2 separate regions of the Homo sapiens genome follow, and region 1 is linked to region 2. The links are contacts of gene promoters, found by promoter capture Hi-C in human tissues and cell types (Jung and others, 2019). All regions are on one chromosome and are shown on one strand. The core of a region is centred on a gene start or on the middle of the fragment in contact, and the rest is flanking DNA. Distances in the headings are between cores, read along the strand shown.

The links. Contacts are between HindIII fragments. The study calls those that stand out against the background at their distance.
Region 1: a contact is called between a fragment that was not itself captured here and the fragment with the promoter of S1PR1 in region 2, in 1 of the 25 tissues and cell types used here (lymphoblastoid cells).

Annotation. Positions count from the first base shown.
Region 1 is chr1:100,364,671-100,369,672 of GRCh38, forward strand. The region is part of intron 2 of CDC14A (cell division cycle 14A); the gene reads left to right. Among named protein-coding and RNA genes, the nearest start is that of CDC14A, 15 kb to the left of the region's middle. The HindIII fragment of the contact is 5,317 bases long and covers 1-4,285 here.
Region 2 is chr1:101,235,769-101,240,719 of GRCh38, forward strand. It overlaps S1PR1 (sphingosine-1-phosphate receptor 1), which reads left to right and starts at 1,251. Exons shown (of 2, transcript NM_001400.5): 1 at 1,251-1,331; 2 at 3,054-4,951. The coding sequence starts at 3,217. The coding sequence ends at 4,365. S1PR1-DT (S1PR1 divergent transcript) reads right to left here and starts at 760. Exons shown (of 2, transcript NR_104626.1): 1 at 557-760; 2 at 1-113. RefSeq lists enhancers at 341-430, 3,064-3,113. The HindIII fragment of the contact is 36,645 bases long and covers 1-4,951 here.

The DNA.
Region 1 (5,002 bases), core at 377-2,876, 870 kb before region 2:
TCAGTACTAGCCATTGAATAATGGAGTTAATTTACACTGCTTGAGAATATTTCTGTGGGAGTGAATTTTAATTTTCCCAGTGCATTCCTGAAGAAGTCTCCTTTTGTTTTCGTTAATCTGAGTCTCTAAGGGAGTTTTTATTAACTGACCTTCTCTAACGAGGGATGTTAGAATTACAGACCCTGATACTGGAAGGTTTCTTGATACCATCTGGTCTGTTGTTTGGCTTTAAGGCAAAGTGAAAGCACTCACTTATTTTACAGAAACAGCAGCTGACACCTGACCTGACCAGTATTTACCTCGGGTTAAGAAGGTAATAAGTGGAGAATGGTTCCTCACCCTCTGGTGTTGTAAACCTGAACTTTCTTAGAAATCTAGACAATGCATCAAGGGACAGGATTGATAGTTGATATTGGGGTTCTCTCCTTCCTTTATGATCTCAACAAATGTCAGACTTTTTGCAGACAAGTAAGTAATAAAGATGATAAGTTTCCTAATACATGTAGCTGCTTTGTAGTCTGTGGGTTTGCTTTCTGGCTGTGCAGAAAACAGTGAATTTCATGGAAAAAGTTGTGTTCTTTTCCTTCCTCAAAGAGGAGACACTCTGAGGGAAATGTTTTCTGTACCCAGACCCAATGCACTGAGAGGACAGACAGAACAGAGAACATCAAATAGGGCAAGTAGACCTTGAGAAACATTTGAACAGTTGAATGGGTTTGTCCAATAAGGATAACTAGAGTCATAGACTCTGTAGAGTCTATATAGCGGCTAGAACTGTGATATATGATATTACATAAGAGCTGGAAAGAACTTTAGGAGCCATCTAATTCAGTGGCTTCATTTGATAGATGAGGACGTGGAGTCCCAGAGAGGCTACGACACCAGATTAGGGACACTGAGTGACCAAATTGGGACTGGAACCTTTTGGCACCCAGTGATCTTTAGTTCTGCATCAGACTGCTGTGTGTGTGGGAAGCTTGTTAGATGTGCAGCAACTCTTCCCCAAGAAGTTGGCATCAGTGTGACTGTGGGTGGTTATGCTAAAGGGCTTGAGCAAAAACTCAGACTAGTGCCCTCATCTGAGGTTGGTATTTGTTATGCAGTTAGGACCTTTTTAAAATGTGATCATTATGAGTTCAGCCATAATAATCACGTCTCATACAGAAACTTTATCATCTGACTGGAGGGGTGCGGATAGTATTCTAGTGATAGGGAAACTGTTAGGTAATGTGTGGCCCAGAGGCATTGCTGATCAATTTCAACAAAATTTTACACACACACACACACACACACACACACACACACACGGTCTCATTGTGTTTTGGAGGATACTGCTATTTTAGCATTTATCACATTGTAATAATGTCTTTACCTGTCTTCTCAGTAGATAGTGAGCTCCTTGTGGGTAGGGACTGGTGACCAATAGGCTTTTAGTAACTATTTGAGTGAGCAAGTGAATGAAGAGACAAAAAACGTCAGCAGTGCTGGTAAAACATTGAAAGGTTGGCATGCCTTATAACGATCTTATAGAATTTATTCATCCTGTTTTTAAAGCAGTTAATTTTTTTTGTATTGCAAGTACTCTGTGATGAATATGCTAACTAGTAATGCCTTGCTCAGAATAGGTAGTCATAAATTTTGTTGAATGAATGAGTACTTCTTGGAATGTAGCTTATCTTTTTGCTGAGGTGTTGGGAATTTTCACATGAAGCTTCTAATGTGTAGAATAAGGTATAACAATACTTCAAACAATGATTCCTCTGGGAATTGACTCACTTAAATTATAGTTTATTAGAAAAACCGAAGACAAAATAATGGTACATCATAAACTTCATAAATCTGTGAGAAGAGCTGCACATGTTGAGTATGACAGCAAGGCTTTTAGGCCCAGCTTCTATGTCCCTTCAAATTTGTAGGACCTGCACCTGTGGGGTGGTGGGTGATCCTACCCTTGTGAATGTTTGCTCTGATCCTTGGGCTCCTGTTTCTTTGTTCTCCTGGTAAGGAGATGAACCTCCTTCCTCCTCCACTTGCAGGACTCCAAATGCTCCAATTCTTTTAGTTTCTTTCCTGTCAAAACAGAAAAGGGTTTGATTTTAGCTATTTACACTTACTGAATAAAAAGATGGATGGACCGATTTTCCCTTAATAGTTCATGAGTTTCATTGTAGGCATTGACCCATAATTTGCCAATCTTCTTAGAAGAAATCTGCAAATAGGTGGAGAGAATCATTCGTTCATTTGTTAATTCATTTGGAGATGAACGCACGGGTACTCTGAAATAATAAAATGTCCGTGTTTTTCCCTGGCCACATGAGACCAAAAGACTACTCCCCTCTGCCAAGACAAAGTGGGGACCCGTGCTTGGCTGTGGCTCTGGAAGCCTTTTCCTAGGAAATGCCAGAGTGGAGAAGACTCTGTCCATTGTCATTAACTTCAAGTTTAGGAGTGCACTCAGCCCTCAGATTTCTGAATAGTCTCTGAAGTACTTATTTCTACCATCTCCTCCCTTTTCACTATCCCCAGGTTGATGACCTTCCATTTCTCCTCTTCCACCCTGCTTTTGTTCCAAGCTGCCCAAATAAATCTAGCACATTTGATTATTTTCATTGATTATCAATTAATTTTTATTTTGAATTTCCCTCTAGCTAATAGTATGTATTATAAGTATGTTTTCATTTTTCCCTCAACTCTGGTGAAGAAGGTTCTTACAAAGGAGCATGTTGTTGGAAGATGTCTTCTTTATTCACAGTATTTCATTATACCAAAGTTGGTGATAACCCAGCATGGTGTGAACAACTATCAGCAATTTTTCAATGATCTTGACATTTAAAAATATATTTATTAATAGTAAGCTAGAAAACTATATGTATAAGACTATATTATTTTAAATACATAAATAGTCTTACAAGTGTAAGTATTGTATCAAATGACCTTAAGATAAGATAGAGCTTGTTGGCTTTATATTTGTGACAATTCTGACTTTTGAAGACTTGTTCAAAATTGCTCTTGGTTGTGCAAAACTTTTGACTGAATTTTTTTAGTGTAACTTGAAGCTCATCCGTCTTTTTGTGGGATATAAAGGCTGGCCCACTGAGCTTCAACATACTGTGGGGTGGGAAGTCCTCTGGGTTAGGATTGCTTATTTTTTTTCTACCTTTAACCTGAGGCTCTTGCCAAAAGAGAGGCATAACTTCTTCATTGTTGCTATCTTTGGATAGCAGCCTACTCTTAAAACAGCCTGTCTTTTTGAGAGACAGTGAAGGAGGGTGGGAACTAGATCCTCACCTATTTTTCCATTCTCTTATGTTCCAAGTCCCAACTGGCTTTTTGGAAATATGACCCTCTTGAACAAAACAGGATAAAAATTACCAGGGCCTATTCTCACTGTTGGGAAATAATTGGGCCTTTGTAGGGAAAGGATATTGTCTTCAAACATTTTATCTATACTTCGTTTATGGTACTTGGTAATTTCTTTTATCTTTTATAGTTATTTTGATATGTCTTTTCATCTTGATCAGTATTGTCCATCAGTGCAGAACATTGTTGAATTCTGTAGCCATTAGCTACGTGTGGCTTTTGAACACATTTGAAATAATTGAAGAATTTTTAATTTGTTTCACCTTAGTTAATTTAAATTTAAATAGCCATGACTAGTGGCTACCATGTTGGAGAGTACAGATCAACTTAAGGATAATGTTTGTATTTGATTTACTTTCTCCTGTGTTATTGTAGTATGCCAATTTTATTTCCTGGTGTTTGGTGAAATAGGTTCATATGTGAACCATATTGCTTTCAAAAGTACATGTGGCTAAGCCAATCTGATTGTTAGAAATTGTACATCTTTGAATTTGAGTTTGAAGTTGGATTGTAATGGTTAGTATGAAACTGGAATTTGATGACGAATTCTTTTTTAAAAAATTTCAACTTTTATTTTAGATTCAGGGGTATATGTGCAGGTTTGTATACAAGCATATTTTGTGATGCTAAGGTTTGGGGTATAAATGATCCTGTCACCCAGGTAGTGAGCATAGTTCCCAATAGTTAGTTTTGCAACCCTTTACTCCCTTCTTCCCTCCCCACTTCAGTAGTCCTTCATGTCTATTGTTGCCATCTTTTTGTCCGTGAGTAGTCAATTGTGTAGTTCCCACTTATAAATGAGAACATGCGGTATTTGGTTTTCTATTCCTGCATTAATTCTTTTAGGATAATAGCCTCCAGCTTCATCCATGTTGCTGCAAAGATAGAACGATTTATTTTCTTTTGGATATATACCCAGTAATGGGATTGCTGGGTTGAATGGTAGTTCTGTTTTAAGTTTTTTTGAGAAATCTCCAAACTGCTTTTCACAGTGGCTGGACTAATTTAGATTCCCGCCGCCAACAGTGTGAATCTGTTGTTTTTTGACATTTTTTTTTTTTTTTTGAGATGGAGTCTCGCTCTGTCGCCAGGCTGGAGTGCAGTGGCGCAATCTCGGCTCACTGCAACCTCCGCCTCCTGGGTTCAAGCAATTTTCCTGCCTCTGCCTCCTGGGTTCAAGCGATTCTCCTGCCTCAGCCTCCAAGGTAGCTGTGACTACAGGCATGTGCCACCACGCCCAGCTAATTTTTGTATTTTTAGTAGAGATGGGGTTTCACCATGTTGGCCAGGATGGTCTTGATCTCTTGACCTCGTGATCCGCCCACCTTGGCCTCCCAAAGTGCTGGAATTACAGGCGTGAGCCACTGCCTAGCCTTGACTTTTTAATAGTAGCCATTCTGACTGGTGTGAGATGGTGTCTCATTATGGTTTTGATTGGTGTTTCTCTGATGATTAGTGATGTTGATCATTTTTCATATGTTAGGTGCTTGTGTTTCTTCTTTTGAGAAGTGTCTGTTCATGTCTTTTGCTCATTTTTTAATGGGGTTATTTTTCTCTTGTTCAACTGTTAAATTCCTATGGATTCTAGATATTAGACCTTTGTCAGATACATAGTTTGCGAATATTTTTCCCCTTCTGTATG
Region 2 (4,951 bases), core at 1-2,500:
TGGGTGGAAACTTTTACAACAGTAATGCAAGGGCAGAAGCGTCCTGTCCTGAGCTTGTCACGCAGGCAGATCTGACCAAGTCCGCCTCTCAGCCTCACGTTCTTAAGTAGCATCTAAGCAAAAGAAAAGGGTGGGCAAAGTGCTAGTAATGAGATTTGAGGCCTCTGAGTCGACTCCCAAGCAGAATGTGAGAGAAGGGTGCCGGCTCCTGCTGGGCAGCTGCAGTTGCTCCGCAGCTCCTGGCCGAGAATCTCCCCCTTTGGAAATTCCTGAGCTGCCCAGGCGTTTTGAATCTCTCAGGACTCAGCAGCAGCCCACCCCCTCAACGACCTCTCCATTGGCCAGAATCTGGGACACACAGCCTGACTTTGTGCTCAGCTGAGGGAAACCCCTCGCCCAACACCAAAACCGGCGCTGGTTCATTTCTCTGTGCACTCTGGGAAAGCCACTGCCCCTCAGACCGCAGTTGCGAGTAGCACGAGGATCTGGGGTGGCGGGGGGAGTACAGGAACCTCCCGGTTCATTCTCCCTCCCGGGCTGCTTGTCTCCTCCGTACCTCTCGCAGCCCCTTCCCAGCCTCTCCTCCCCAGAGCGCCGCCGACACTCGCCGGGCCGCGGCTCAGGTTTTCTGCTGCTCGCGCGAAAGTGGCTCGGGGAGCTCCTGGCCACAAGCTCAGCACACCGATCCTCCTAGGGCTGCGGGGGGTGTGGGACCAGGGCGGTGCGCTACGAGACTCCGGGCCGTCCTCTGCCTCCTCAGACTTTTCGAGAGAAAAGTTTTCAAAGTCTCTCCACCTTTTTTTTTTTTCAGGGGCTCGGGAGAATCCTCTCCACAGCCAGGGATCAGCGTCTATCTGGGCGAGGGCAGTGATTTATACAGTAGAATCCAGGGGTTACCGGGCTCCGCCCCTTCTCTCTCTCTCTTTTTTTCTTTCATTTGTTGTTTGGGGAGGAGGGGTTCTTTTTTTTTTTTTTTTTTTTTTTTTTGCTTCTGCCCCAGATCTTTCCTGGACAGTGCGTCTCAGCAGTTCAGATCCGGGGGCCCCCAGCTGACAGAGGGCGTGGGGGGTTAAGGCATTAACCCCTCCCAGCCTCTTCCTGAAGAAACCACCCAGCCTTGGCGCGGCGCTGGGTGACTTCGCGTAGCAGGCAGGGAACTGGCCGCGGCGAGCGGGACTGGCCATTGGAGTGCTCCGCTGCGGAGGGAGGGGACCCCGACTCGAGTAAGTTTGCGAGAGCACTACGCAGTCAGTCGGGGGCAGCAGCAAGATGCGAAGCGAGCCGTACAGATCCCGGGCTCTCCGAACGCAACTTCGCCCTGCTTGAGCGAGGTAGGGGGCGGCGAATGGCGGGGGTCGCGGGCGCGGGGAGCCCGGTTGTGGTAGGGCTTAGGTGTCAGAAACGAATTTTTAAGTCGAACGAGGCAAACAAAAACTTAGAAAACATGCATCTCCGGGCGCTGAAAATTTGCATCTCTGGGCTACTAAGGAGCCCATCTCGATCAGATTGTTCTTGGGCACTTGTGATTTATGGAGTTCAGAAAAAAGGTTAATTCCCAACTGTGGAACCTACGGGTGTAGGGGCAGTGAAAATTGCAGTTGGTCGGAGGAATAGGAGGGAAGGCGTTAAATTTTGGAAATCCTATAGACAAAGAATATGGTGGGTGGTGTGGAGCGTGGGTAATGGCTTAAATTAGTACTGCCCAGGAGCAGGGTATAAAATTAGTTGGGGGAAAATGCGGAGCTTCTTGGCTTGAGCAGCCTCTGCTGTTCGCGGAGTTGCTGGGATTGTTCTCATCTCTATTACCTCATTTTATTGCATTGCTGCATTACCTTGAAATATTTAAGCAACTTAGAAGTAGACTTCTGCTGACCAGTGCCGTCTTAGAAAGTTTCTTTGTAACTTTCTAGTCCTAGGAGAGGAGTCAACGTGTTGGGGGACTGCAGTAAATAAAACTGCCCACGCAAATTTAGCAATGCACCAGGGAGCAGTTTAATGTGAGTTTCTGAAGAGTAGTTTTGCAATCGAAATTAGAAATGTGGTAGCATGTATTATGGCTGTCATGAGTAGTTTGATTTCTCTCTTTTGTGTATGTTTTGGCTAAACTAAACAAAGCAAAAAATATTTATGCAATCAACTAATGTACGAAACTTCTGGGATTTGCTGCAATCTGTTATGAATGGTTTTAACTGAATACCTTTAAATTTACTTGCCCTGGCTTGGGGTGGGGGGTGGGGTGGGGGGGCGCGGGGGGAGGCGGGGAGAATAAGAAGAAGAAAGAAAAGGCAGTCGCTTCACGGAGGCGCTAAGCTTTCCTGTTTACAGCAAGGCGGGGCGGGCCTGGCTGCCCACACCTCACTGCGCCCTCGGACCCTAAGCACACCTGCTCCTAGAGAGTTATTAATAGAGCCCCCAAATGGCTTACGCTTTCAAATGATTTTCCTGCAAATCTGATTTCTTGCATGGCACATGGCAATTAGGAGGTGGTGCTAGTATCTTTGAACTGGGGGGCTGGGGGTGGGCATGGGGGACAGAGGTGTGTGTCTTCGCCCTCAGACTGGCAGTTGAGTCTTTTCCGAGGAGAGACGTGGGCTGGTATTGAGCGTGCAGCTAAGCTGGTGACTGCTTCAGAGAATCTCATGGCTGGAAATCCGGGGGTGAGGGGGTGTGGGGTGGTGAGAGGGCAGGAGTGGAGTTAAAATGGGGTGTAGTTCTCTAGGTTTCCCATTCCTCCCACTCCTTGTTTTCCTTTTCATCATCTTTTTTTTTTTGTCAACCCACAGCCAACATCGTAATTCCCATTTCCCTTTGAGTGAATGTGGCCATAGAGTTTCTCCCTCTCTTTTTCTTCCCCCTCTTCCTTTTTTGAAAAAAGAAAAAAAAGGAAGAAAAAAGATAATTTGATTTTTAAAAAAAATCTCTCTCCCTGAGCTCTCCCCAAGTTTCTTTAAAACAAATCAACAACAACACAATTGGAGCAGTGCCTTAGCTAGAATGAATTATGCCAGTATGCTGTGGCTCTTTCCCTGACTCTCTCCTCTGACTTGTTTAAGGCTGCGGTTTCCGAGGCCCTCTCCAGCCAAGGAAAAGCTACACAAAAAGCCTGGATCACTCATCGAACCACCCCTGAAGCCAGTGAAGGCTCTCTCGCCTCGCCCTCTAGCGTTCGTCTGGAGTAGCGCCACCCCGGCTTCCTGGGGACACAGGGTTGGCACCATGGGGCCCACCAGCGTCCCGCTGGTCAAGGCCCACCGCAGCTCGGTCTCTGACTACGTCAACTATGATATCATCGTCCGGCATTACAACTACACGGGAAAGCTGAATATCAGCGCGGACAAGGAGAACAGCATTAAACTGACCTCGGTGGTGTTCATTCTCATCTGCTGCTTTATCATCCTGGAGAACATCTTTGTCTTGCTGACCATTTGGAAAACCAAGAAATTCCACCGACCCATGTACTATTTTATTGGCAATCTGGCCCTCTCAGACCTGTTGGCAGGAGTAGCCTACACAGCTAACCTGCTCTTGTCTGGGGCCACCACCTACAAGCTCACTCCCGCCCAGTGGTTTCTGCGGGAAGGGAGTATGTTTGTGGCCCTGTCAGCCTCCGTGTTCAGTCTCCTCGCCATCGCCATTGAGCGCTATATCACAATGCTGAAAATGAAACTCCACAACGGGAGCAATAACTTCCGCCTCTTCCTGCTAATCAGCGCCTGCTGGGTCATCTCCCTCATCCTGGGTGGCCTGCCTATCATGGGCTGGAACTGCATCAGTGCGCTGTCCAGCTGCTCCACCGTGCTGCCGCTCTACCACAAGCACTATATCCTCTTCTGCACCACGGTCTTCACTCTGCTTCTGCTCTCCATCGTCATTCTGTACTGCAGAATCTACTCCTTGGTCAGGACTCGGAGCCGCCGCCTGACGTTCCGCAAGAACATTTCCAAGGCCAGCCGCAGCTCTGAGAAGTCGCTGGCGCTGCTCAAGACCGTAATTATCGTCCTGAGCGTCTTCATCGCCTGCTGGGCACCGCTCTTCATCCTGCTCCTGCTGGATGTGGGCTGCAAGGTGAAGACCTGTGACATCCTCTTCAGAGCGGAGTACTTCCTGGTGTTAGCTGTGCTCAACTCCGGCACCAACCCCATCATTTACACTCTGACCAACAAGGAGATGCGTCGGGCCTTCATCCGGATCATGTCCTGCTGCAAGTGCCCGAGCGGAGACTCTGCTGGCAAATTCAAGCGACCCATCATCGCCGGCATGGAATTCAGCCGCAGCAAATCGGACAATTCCTCCCACCCCCAGAAAGACGAAGGGGACAACCCAGAGACCATTATGTCTTCTGGAAACGTCAACTCTTCTTCCTAGAACTGGAAGCTGTCCACCCACCGGAAGCGCTCTTTACTTGGTCGCTGGCCACCCCAGTGTTTGGAAAAAAATCTCTGGGCTTCGACTGCTGCCAGGGAGGAGCTGCTGCAAGCCAGAGGGAGGAAGGGGGAGAATACGAACAGCCTGGTGGTGTCGGGTGTTGGTGGGTAGAGTTAGTTCCTGTGAACAATGCACTGGGAAGGGTGGAGATCAGGTCCCGGCCTGGAATATATTTTCTACCCCCCTGGAGCTTTGATTTTGCACTGAGCCAAAGGTCTAGCATTGTCAAGCTCCTAAAGGGTTCATTTGGCCCCTCCTCAAAGACTAATGTCCCCATGTGAAAGCGTCTCTTTGTCTGGAGCTTTGAGGAGATGTTTTCCTTCACTTTAGTTTCAAACCCAAGTGAGTGTGTGCACTTCTGCTTCTTTAGGGATGCCCTGTACATCCCACACCCCACCCTCCCTTCCCTTCATACCCCTCCTCAACGTTCTTTTACTTTATACTTTAACTACCTGAGAGTTATCAGAGCTGGGGTTGTGGAATGATCGATCATCTATAGCAAATAGGCTATGTTGAGTACGTAGGC